2 separate regions of the Homo sapiens genome follow, and region 2 is linked to region 1. Evidence: promoter capture Hi-C in 16 types of primary human blood cells and fetal thymus (Javierre and others, 2016). All regions are on one chromosome and are shown on one strand. The core of a region is centred on a gene start or on the middle of the fragment in contact, and the rest is flanking DNA. Distances in the headings are between cores, read along the strand shown.

Evidence for each region. Contacts are between HindIII fragments. The CHiCAGO score rates a contact against its expected background, and 5 or more counts as called.
Region 2: a fragment that was not itself captured here is called in contact with the fragment with the promoter of CHD8 in region 1 in 1 of 17 cell types (total CD4 T cells); the score reaches 5.2 in total CD4 T cells.

The regions. Positions count from the first base shown.
Region 1 is chr14:21,453,916-21,458,573 of GRCh38, reverse strand. CHD8 (chromodomain helicase DNA binding protein 8) reads left to right here and starts at 2,451. Exons shown (of 38, transcript NM_001170629.2): 1 at 2,451-2,542. LOC124903283 (a long non-coding RNA gene) reads right to left here and starts at 2,177. Exons shown (of 2, transcript XR_007064064.1): 1 at 2,097-2,177. RefSeq lists enhancers at 1,051-1,602, 1,879-1,928, 1,939-1,988, 1,603-2,154, 2,019-2,708. The HindIII fragment of the contact is 18,756 bases long and covers 1,780-4,658 here.
Region 2 is chr14:24,116,773-24,121,430 of GRCh38, reverse strand. DCAF11 (DDB1 and CUL4 associated factor 11) reads right to left here. Exons shown (of 15, transcript NM_025230.5): 3 at 4,387-4,514; 4 at 4,038-4,165; 5 at 3,699-3,763; 6 at 3,276-3,376; 7 at 2,897-3,043; 8 at 2,627-2,681; 9 at 2,218-2,286; 10 at 1,815-1,872; 11 at 1,535-1,720; 12 at 440-593; 13 at 1-66. Among named protein-coding and RNA genes, the nearest start is that of NRL, 4.2 kb to the right of the region's middle. The HindIII fragment of the contact is 3,232 bases long and covers 505-3,736 here.

The sequences.
Region 1 (4,658 bases), core at 1,202-3,701:
GATACCATTTTGATATTTTGGAGCACAGTTTTTTAATATTAATGCCCATATCTTGTTCTATTAACCAAGCCGACTTATGACCTTCTGTACTTGGGTATTGCACCAATTGTAAGGGAAGCATGAGAAAAAAAAGTATCTGGGCAAAATCATCTGTATTCTGAGTGAAGTGGTCATGAAGAATTATAAAAAGTGGATATGCCACCCCATATGAAGAATGGTAGTTATGAAATAATGTCCACTTTTTTTTTTTTTCCATCTATAGTCTTACCAATGTCCATTGGTTTTTGAAGGCCAAGACCATTGGAAATCATACTAAGATCAGTGTAGGTACCAGAAATTGGTTCAGGCACACCTGTTCCCATTTCCATAATATCTATAGCTCCTTTGATGACAGGTCTATTCTGTACCAGATGGATAATAGGCTCTCATCCTAGAAACTATTAATAATTAAGGTTATATCTGTATATGCATTTACAGACAAACACATTGTTCTGATAAATCTTAATACTAACATCAAATTGATATAATGGCAGCAGTAGCCAGGAGAGAATTTGGTTGACAGATTTTTTTTTTTTTTTTTTTTGAGACAGAGTTTCCCGCTTGTTGCCCAGGCTGGAGTGCAATGGCATGATCTAGGCTCACCACAACCTCCGCCTCCCGAGTTCAAGTGATTTTCCTGCCTCAGCCTCCTGAGTAGCTGGGGTTACAGGCATGCACCACCACACCCAGCTACTTTTGTATTTTTAGTAGAGACGGGGTTTCTCCATGTTGGTCAGGCTGGTCTTGAACTCCGGACCTTAGGTGATCCACCCGCCTCGGCCTCCCAAAGTGCTGGGATTACAGGCGTGAGCTACCGCGCCTGTCTTGGCTGACAGATTTTGATACACAGGGAAATGTATTTGGCCAAGTCTTTTTTTTTTTTTTTTTTTTTTTTTTTTTTTTTTTGAGATGGAATTTCGCTCTTGTTGCCCAGGCTGGAGTGCAGTGGTGAGATCTTGGCTCACCACAACCTCCGCCTCCTGGGTTCAAGCGATTCTCCTGCCTCAGCCTCCCGAGTAGCTGGGATTATGGGTGTCTGCCACCACGCCCGGCTAATTTTTTTTTGTATCTTTACTAGAGACGGGGTTTCACTATGTTGGCCAGGCTGCTCTCGAACTCCTGACCTCAGGCGATCCACCCGCCTCAGCCTCCCAAAGTGCTGGGATTACAGGCGTGAGCCACTGCGCCCAGCTTAAGGCCGAGTCTTATCACTCATATGACTTCTTGATGTCTCTGAGCTCCTATCATGTAAGACCATGCAATTATGTTACTCCTTGAGAAATTCCTTTAATAATCTGGAAGGATTCCCTCACTCACAACTTTAAAAAAGATTTCTTGGCCAGGAATGGTGGCTCATGTCTGTAATCCCAGCACTTTGGGAGGCCGAGGTGGGCGGATCACTTGAGGTCTGGAGTTCGAAACCAGCCTGACCAACATGGCGAAACCCCGTCTCTACTAAAAATACAAAAATTAGCTGGGCGTGGTGGCGGGAGCCTGTAGTCTCAGCTACTCAGGAAGCTGAGACAGGAGAATTGCTTGAACCCGGGAGGCAGAGGTTGCAGTGAGCCGAGATCGCCCCACTGCACTCCAGCCTGGGTGACCGAGCGAGACTCCATCTCAAAAAAAAAAAAAAAAATTAGGCCTTTAAAAAAAAAAAGGAATTCCTCCTTAAGTCCTGTTCTTGATTTCCAACTGATTCACAGTGCCCCTACTGGAAAATTTGCAGTGAATCCTAAAGCTTAGTAGCACCTATAATAGATACATGTCCTGATATTTTGAGTGAGGTGTCCATAAAGGATTACCCTAGGAAAGTGCAACTTTCACTCTCATTAGAAGAATTAATTTTTGCTTATTTGATTTGTTAAAATTGCTTTACTCCTACAGTTAAGTGAGAGGGTGGTGGTGGTTGTTGCCCGTAACCACATACGGCATTACTCCAGGGTTTCACGTCGTGACTGAGGGGCCTCCTAAGTGTATACAGCAGAGTATGTTCGGGCTGGACCTAGATAGTCGGACAGAACACCGACAGGGTCTTCACATTCTTTAAGCACTCTCACCCAGTCCCGGAGTCCGAGCCAAGATGGCTTCCCAGAAGTAGGTAACTAAGTGTTGTTTTAGTTCACAGCGCCCCCAATGGCGGGGGTCAAAAAAAGATGCCGAGGGGCCTGGCCGCCTGTGAACTGAGTCGTCAGAGGCGAGCCGCCGCCAGATTTTATTTTCAATCAGGCATATTTGTGGTCGCCTACGTACCCTTCTCATCCTCCTAGGACCTTCCACCCTCAAGAGACTTCCTGGATGGCGCTCACACTAGCTCGCTGGAAGAGGCCGGGCTTCGGTGCTGCCATTGGCGGATGGGAGCGCAGGGGGGCGGAGCCTAGGGAGAATGGACTACTAGCAAGCTAGATTGAGGCGAGGGCTGGCCATGCTCCGCCGGAAGGCGCCTTGTTCTCGGAGAGGGTGAGTTGAAACGCTGCCTGGAAAGGAAGTACCAGGACTTGCACAGGTAGGCTTCCCGCTCGCACCCGCTCCTCAGTGCTGGGCCAGGAGTCAGCAAAAGCTGAGGCTCTCAGAGATTTGATTTAAGTAACTCCTTCTCCTCTCTCTTCCACCCCCTGCTCGCCCCCCAGTTGTGAGGGATCAGGTGCGGGGTGATGCTCCGGACTGAACCAGTCTCCTTTGTGAGAGGCCGGGGGAGAGGGTGGCTGCCGGGCCGCGGGGTCCGAGCCGGGCCGAGCCGCGAGGGACTGCTTGGGACGCTGTGGAGTTTTCAGGGCTTGTCATTGCATTACTGGGCGTAGTGTAGATTGGAGGCGGCGCCTTGTTCTCCTCTCTTCAGAGAAGGGAAAACTCCTCGGCCCCGTTTGGTTACTCCATACTTTGGATTCAGAAATAGGTGGTTAGGGTTTTCTACTTCTTTTTATTTTTTTTTCTTCTGTATTTTAATAATAAAGGTGGGTAGGAAAGCATGGGGTAAGCGTAAGCAGATTGTTACTCATTCTCAGGTGTAAGTTCTGTGGGTCTCCTGGCAGTGAAGAGCAGGCTGTTGGAGAATGTTTAGAGATGGTGGGAAGAGAGGAGCTCAAGCCTTGCATCCTCCTTGACAGGTCTGCAGAGCTCACTGGTTTTCCGTTGCATTATGTAAACTCGTCACTGATAGAAGACCCTTCCCCCTGCTTTGGAACGAATGCAGTTTATTTACCTGTCTCTAGTGTCGCAGGGAATTTCCCTGCAGCAGCTGTATAAATGCAGCAGCCTCTTGCTTTTTAAGGGACAGTCTTGAAGCGGTTAGGGTCTTCACAGAAAAGGTATATAGTGGACCCATCTCTTTCGTATGGCTAAGCAAAGTGAGCCAGAAGTCAAAGATTTAGAACTCTGTCTTTTTCTATTAAAGAATAAACAGCGGAGCGCCCCAAACACAAGCCAGGGGAGCTGCCTTATCAGTGTCTGCTGCATCCTACCATCACAGCGGCGTCTACAGATCGTTTCATCTCCATGCTTTTCTGAGTTTGTCGACTCAGTCAAGGATTCTCAGCCTAGGTTAGCATATGCTGAAGTCATCTGGTGTGGGGCACATTACATATCGAAAGTGAGTTTGTGATTTGAATCGTGTCCTGTGTTAGTTAATTAGATCGTGTCTTCTGCTTAGGAATTTCTTTTGTATTGGTCATCCAATAGGTTTCAGAACAAATTCTAGTCAACCTCATAGAGCAAGATATGAGAAACTTATTTCAAGTACTTTGGAATTATCCCAACCCTTAAAAAAAGAGTTATGATAAGAAAAACATTTTCCATGTAAGAAGACCTTCTGCTGCAAGAGAGGCGTGTCAGTGGATCTGAAGGCAAGTGAAAGATATTGGCCAAAGAGAGAGTAGGCAAGTTTGAAGAGACAGGCTTAGGAGAAAGTTTAAAACTGAAATAGTGGCTCACGCTTGTAATCTCAGCACTTTGGGAGGTGGAGGCGGACGGATCACTTGAAGTCAGGAGTTCGAGACCAGCCTGACCAACATGGTGAAACCCCGTCTCTAAAAGTACAAAAAATACAAAAAAAAATTAGCCGGGCATGGTGACGCGTGCCTGTAGTCCCAGCTACATGGGAGGCCAAGGCATGAAAATCGCTTGAACCCTGGAGGTGGAGATTGCAGTGAGCCAAGATCGTGCCCCTGCATTCCGGCCTGGGCGACACAGCCAGAGGATAGCAAAGGAGTAATGGATTGGGATAAGGGATATAATGGAACAGTGTATGAGTACTTGAACAGTTTTTGTATTCTCCATGTTTGATCTGTCCTGTGCATCTGCTCTTTTGGTTTTGTCAGTTTTCTTTTCTTTTCTTTTCTTTTCTTTTCTTTTCTTTTCTTTTCTTTTCTTTTCTTTTTTTTTGAGACGGAGTCTTGCTCTGTCACCCAGGCTGGAGTGCAGTGGCAGGATCTCGGCTCACTGCAACCTCCGCCTCCCAGGTTCAAGTAATTCTCCTGCCTGAGCCTTCCGAGTAGCTGGGATTACAGGCGCCCGCCACCATGCTTGGCTAATTTTTTTTTTTATTTTTAGTAGAGACGGGGTTTCACCATATTGGCTAGGCTGGTCTTGAACTTCTGACCTCGTGATCCTCCCGCCTCGGCCTC
Region 2 (4,658 bases), core at 871-3,370, 2.7 Mb before region 1:
GCAGCACTCCGTGGCCCCGGTAGGTCATCAAGGAGCTGTCCCCTGGGAGCTTCAGCTTCCGCCAGGCTGGGTAGGGATGCAGAGTAAACCCTAGGTTAGGAAATCTGCTTTGGGATTGTTTCGTACCACCAGTCCTGAGCAAGGTTCGATGCCCAGAGACAAATGCCTTTCCAATCTTCAAGTGGTGGCTCTTTCTCCACCTAATAGTCAGTGGACAGTCTCCAATATGGCCCTGCCGGTTAATCATTACACTCACATACTTTTATATTGGTTGATTCTGAGTGACCCCCACCCAGGCCCCAATCCTAGGAACCTCTGGCCATTCCATCCATGATTTAGCAAATAAAGAGTTAATGCCTGGCAAAGAGGGCTGAGGGGGAGGTCCTCCAGGGCTCCCAGGCTACAGACAAATCCACTGTGCCTGTACTTCCAGTCTCACCTTTTTTGGGCACTTGCTGCCACCGATAGTCCCAGTTTTGCTGTGTGGCAGCCTGGCGTGAAGCTTCCATGCCTTCCCGGCTGGAAAAGCGTCGGATATCCCAGAGTTTGATGGTCTGGTCTTTAGAGTTGGAGATCAGATACCGGGCATCACCCTATGAATCCAAAGGTGGATAGTGAAGCATCAGAGCTTGCAAATGTCGGCGCCTGTCAGTCTAGTTCCCGTTCTCTAGTTGAGCAGAAGAACTCTGGCCTCTGGCTTTACTTGCCTCTCTTCATCCAGGTGAACTCATTTCCAGCGTTCTGCCTCAGATCCTACCACCTGGCTAGGTTTTCCTTTCCTTGCCCAGGCTACTGGCCGGCTTTCCTATTCTAGCCTTAATCAGATTGTCTTCCATTTTTCTTTTTTTAATTTTTAATTAACTAATTTTTTTTTGAGATGGAGTCTTGCTCTGTCACCCAGGCTGGAGTGTAGTGGGGTGATCTCGGCTCACTGCAAGCTCCGCCTCCCGGGTTCACGCCATTCTCCTGCCTCAGCCTCTTGAGTAGATGGGACTACAGGCGACTGCCACCACACCCAGCTAATTTTTTTGTATGTTTAGTAGAGACGGGGTTTCACCATGTTAGCCAGGATGGTCTCGATCTCCTGACCTCGTGATCTGCCCGCCTCGGCCTCCCAAAGTGCTGGGATTACAGGCATGAGCCACGGCATCTGGCCTTAGTTTTTTTTTTTTGTTTTTTTTTTTAAATAAATAGAGATGAGGTCTCGCTAGGTTTCACAGGCTGGTCTGGAACGCCTGAGCTCAAGTGATCCTCCCACCTCAGCCTCCCAAAGTGCTAGGATTACAGGTGTGAGCCGCTGTACCTGACCGGTCTTCCATTTTTCTTGTACGGAAAGCCCTGCCCTGCTCCTTGAGGACTGGTGAGTACAGATGGAATTCATGTTCCCTGGCTTGAGCCCCTTCCCTAAACTCCAACTCTTACAAACCTTGGTTAATAAGGAGCTTGTCAAATTCCCACACCAGTCCGCTTTCATGCCCTCCTGGGCAACTAGAACCTTAGCGGCCTGGCTGTACAGTCCTGACTTCTGGCCCACCTTGCTGTCAATGAAGGTGATGCCATCCTGGTGTCCAGCCAGTGCACCCACAGGCTTGGGGTCATCCTCCCGCATGGTGCGTCGATCCCACACTTTGCAGATGGCATCATCTCCCCCAGAGAACAGGATTTGGGAGCTTATATCAGCAAAGGCCACTGCATTCACATCATCCTCATGGGACTCAATCTAGGCGAAAAGGAGGCCAGGATATAAGACCTCTTTCTAGGTCTTATAAAAAGCCAAAAACCAGGAGGCAGAGGCTCTATCTCAGGAGCCATACCTGAAGGGTGCGCCGGTTCTGTTCTCGGTCAAAGACATACAGGCAGCCATCATTGGCCCTGAAAGGGAAGGGATAAAGGAGGGTCCTGGAGCCATGATCGAGAGGACCAACGTGGTATATGCTCTAGAGAGTTCCACTGAGAAATCCTGCTCTGGGTCAAGCCCTTTGCTCTTTTTATACAGGAAGTGGGGGAAGAGTTAGCTGTGTTTCAAGGAGGCTTGACACCTCCAATCTCGTGCTGGGGAAATGGAGAGCAAGGGGTGAAGCAACTTGTAAATCCTGACCTTGGGAGAAGGTCTGGTTGTTCTCTGCAGCTGCCAGTGCCATCTGTGTAACAGCAGAACTCATCTCTGGCAGAACCCCCATCTTGTTATTGAGGGAAACATACCCCACAAGCACTTACCCTCCTAGTACTTCTCGTCCATCTGAGGAGACAGCAATGGAGAAGACAGCAAAGCGACGCTCATCTGGCCTAAAAGCAAGAAGGAGCTGGGTTAAGTGGACTTCCTTCAGCTTTTGTTAATCTACATAAAATCTGACAACGGTTGTAAGGCACATCCCCAGGGGAAAAAAGAAGTCTGGCTAACATGCACCATAATGCAGATGCTCAGTGAGAACCCAGAAATCATCCTGCAACCATCTATTTTACCCAGTCCTCTGGCTGACAAGATGGTGCTTCCCTCCCAGGAATGCACACAGACCCACCAGTATACTTTTTCCCCTAAACAGAACTTCCAACTCAAGAGGTTTGCTCCCAAAGAGCTTCCCTTGAGAAGTTTCTGATGAGTCTGACCAGAAAGGGAAGCCAGTACCTGAGATCCAGGGCAGTGTGTGTATCTCCCTCACCATAGATATTGCAGATATGAACTAAGAGAAGCAAGAAAAACAAGAATCTTTCAGGGATGGGGGAAGAAGAGTGGAAGTGAAGCTAGGGAAGAGATCAAACAGGGGACAAGGGTACTGGAGCACTTTGGGAGTGATTTTCCCAGGACAAAGTGAGGGATCCTGGCTCAGAGGGGACAGGCACATGGAAACCTCAGGTCCCAGGCTGGAGAGTCAGTGGAAGCCTGGTGCATACTCACTGTAATCAGACCAGCTAGAGTAGAGGAAGTGGTTCCCATCAGGGGTGAAGGCCACATCCAAGACGCTCCAGCCTACGTCGCGGGCCTTGATGCTCTTGAATTTACGGAAACGGCCATATCGGCAGTCATAGAGTCGGATTGTCTGGTCTGTGTAAGTAAAGATCAGGCAGAATTATGGGACAGTTTCCTTGTAACTTTTCTAGATTAGACATCTCCCACTCAGTGTACCTGTGGAGTCTTCCCTTTATCATGGGAAACATGGTCTGGCTAAGCATCCTTAAGCCAGGTCTGAGCTCCCCGTCTGTGGCTTTCTAGCCTCAGTCAGGGGGAATGTCCCATGTTCCAGGAAAAGATAGTTTATAGGACCAGGGTCTGGTACCTTGGCAAGCAGACATGAATATTTGACCATCTTTGCTGTAGATGCCACAGAAAGCCTTCTGAGAGTAGCTATCAGTGAAGCCCAGATCATTGGGCAAGAAGCTAGGGAAGGAGAGAGAAAGTGAGGGTGAGGGGTGCTCAGGATAAGGAGTGTCCCAATCAGCAGAATCCTAACAGAGCTGGAATATCAGAACAGTCATTCTTCCCTTTTGGCTGTGAGTGCAATCCCGTCTTTCAACCATTCCACCATCCTCTAAATTTCTACAATTTTCTACACTTTTCTACTTTGTTTACTCTCAAAGTTTCAACCCCATTTAACCTAACCTTTAATATCTCTGAGGCTCCTTTAACACCTACCCCTTCAAAGTTTAGGAGATAAGACCTATCTGGCCCTTAGAGTCTCTTCACCAAGCCCCATACTCACTGAGATATCACTCGAGACTGTTCTCCAAGGGAGAAGCTTCCCCGATGGCAGAGGCCCCGTTCTCTCTAAATGGAAGGGATTGGGGAATATTGCTAGCAGAAATAGAGGGCCACTTCAGCCATATCAAGCCCCCTCCTCCAAAGATATTGCTCTTGTTATAGAAATGGACACACACATCATAGTCTGTCCCACAGAACTCCGATGGAGGCTGGTTAACTCTCCAGCCCCAGCGCTTGAGGCTTCTACTTTGGAAAGTTGACTTCCTTTTTCTCTGGGGCTGGCAGAGCTTCTGGCTGCTTTGGCAGGCCTGCTGCCAGGCTGGGAGGTGGAGAGGCCTACCTGGTGCAACATTCGAGGAAAGCTGTGCTTCTGGGCGGCCCGCCTAAGCCCCAGCTGCCCTGTGGCCAGTTCCACTTGTGTCTTGATCTCATTGAATTCCAGCTCCCGGGTGTCAGGGGTAGCATCCACTGTGAGTACCAAGGAGAAGTTTCATCCTAGGTCTGCCAGCCTCAGAGGACAGTTAGCAGAACTGTACCCAAGCCCACCCCTGTGGCTGAATATACTGGGGCTGTAAGGACTCCTTATTCCTTAAATTATCGTACCTTCTTTCAATGTAACCTATCATTCAAAATATCACTAAAAGGTTTTCTAGTAAAAGTCTTCCAACATTAGGGGCTTTTCCTCTTACCAGGTGGGTTGTATCGATCCCCAAGACGACCATCCCAAGCTCTGTCATTCTCTTCCTCTGAGTCCAAGAGGGCCTGAATGAATTGTAAATTTGCTGCACCTCCTCCCTGCACCAACCTCACTTGGCCTCTGTGGAGAGACCCCCATTATAAAGGAGGGGACTTCTTCCCCCAAACCAACCAAATTCAGAGTCAATGGCTATCTAGCTCTTAGACCACTTGGTACTCATTTTGAGGTTTGAGGCTGACTAGACCTTGGCTGTTATTTTTGGTC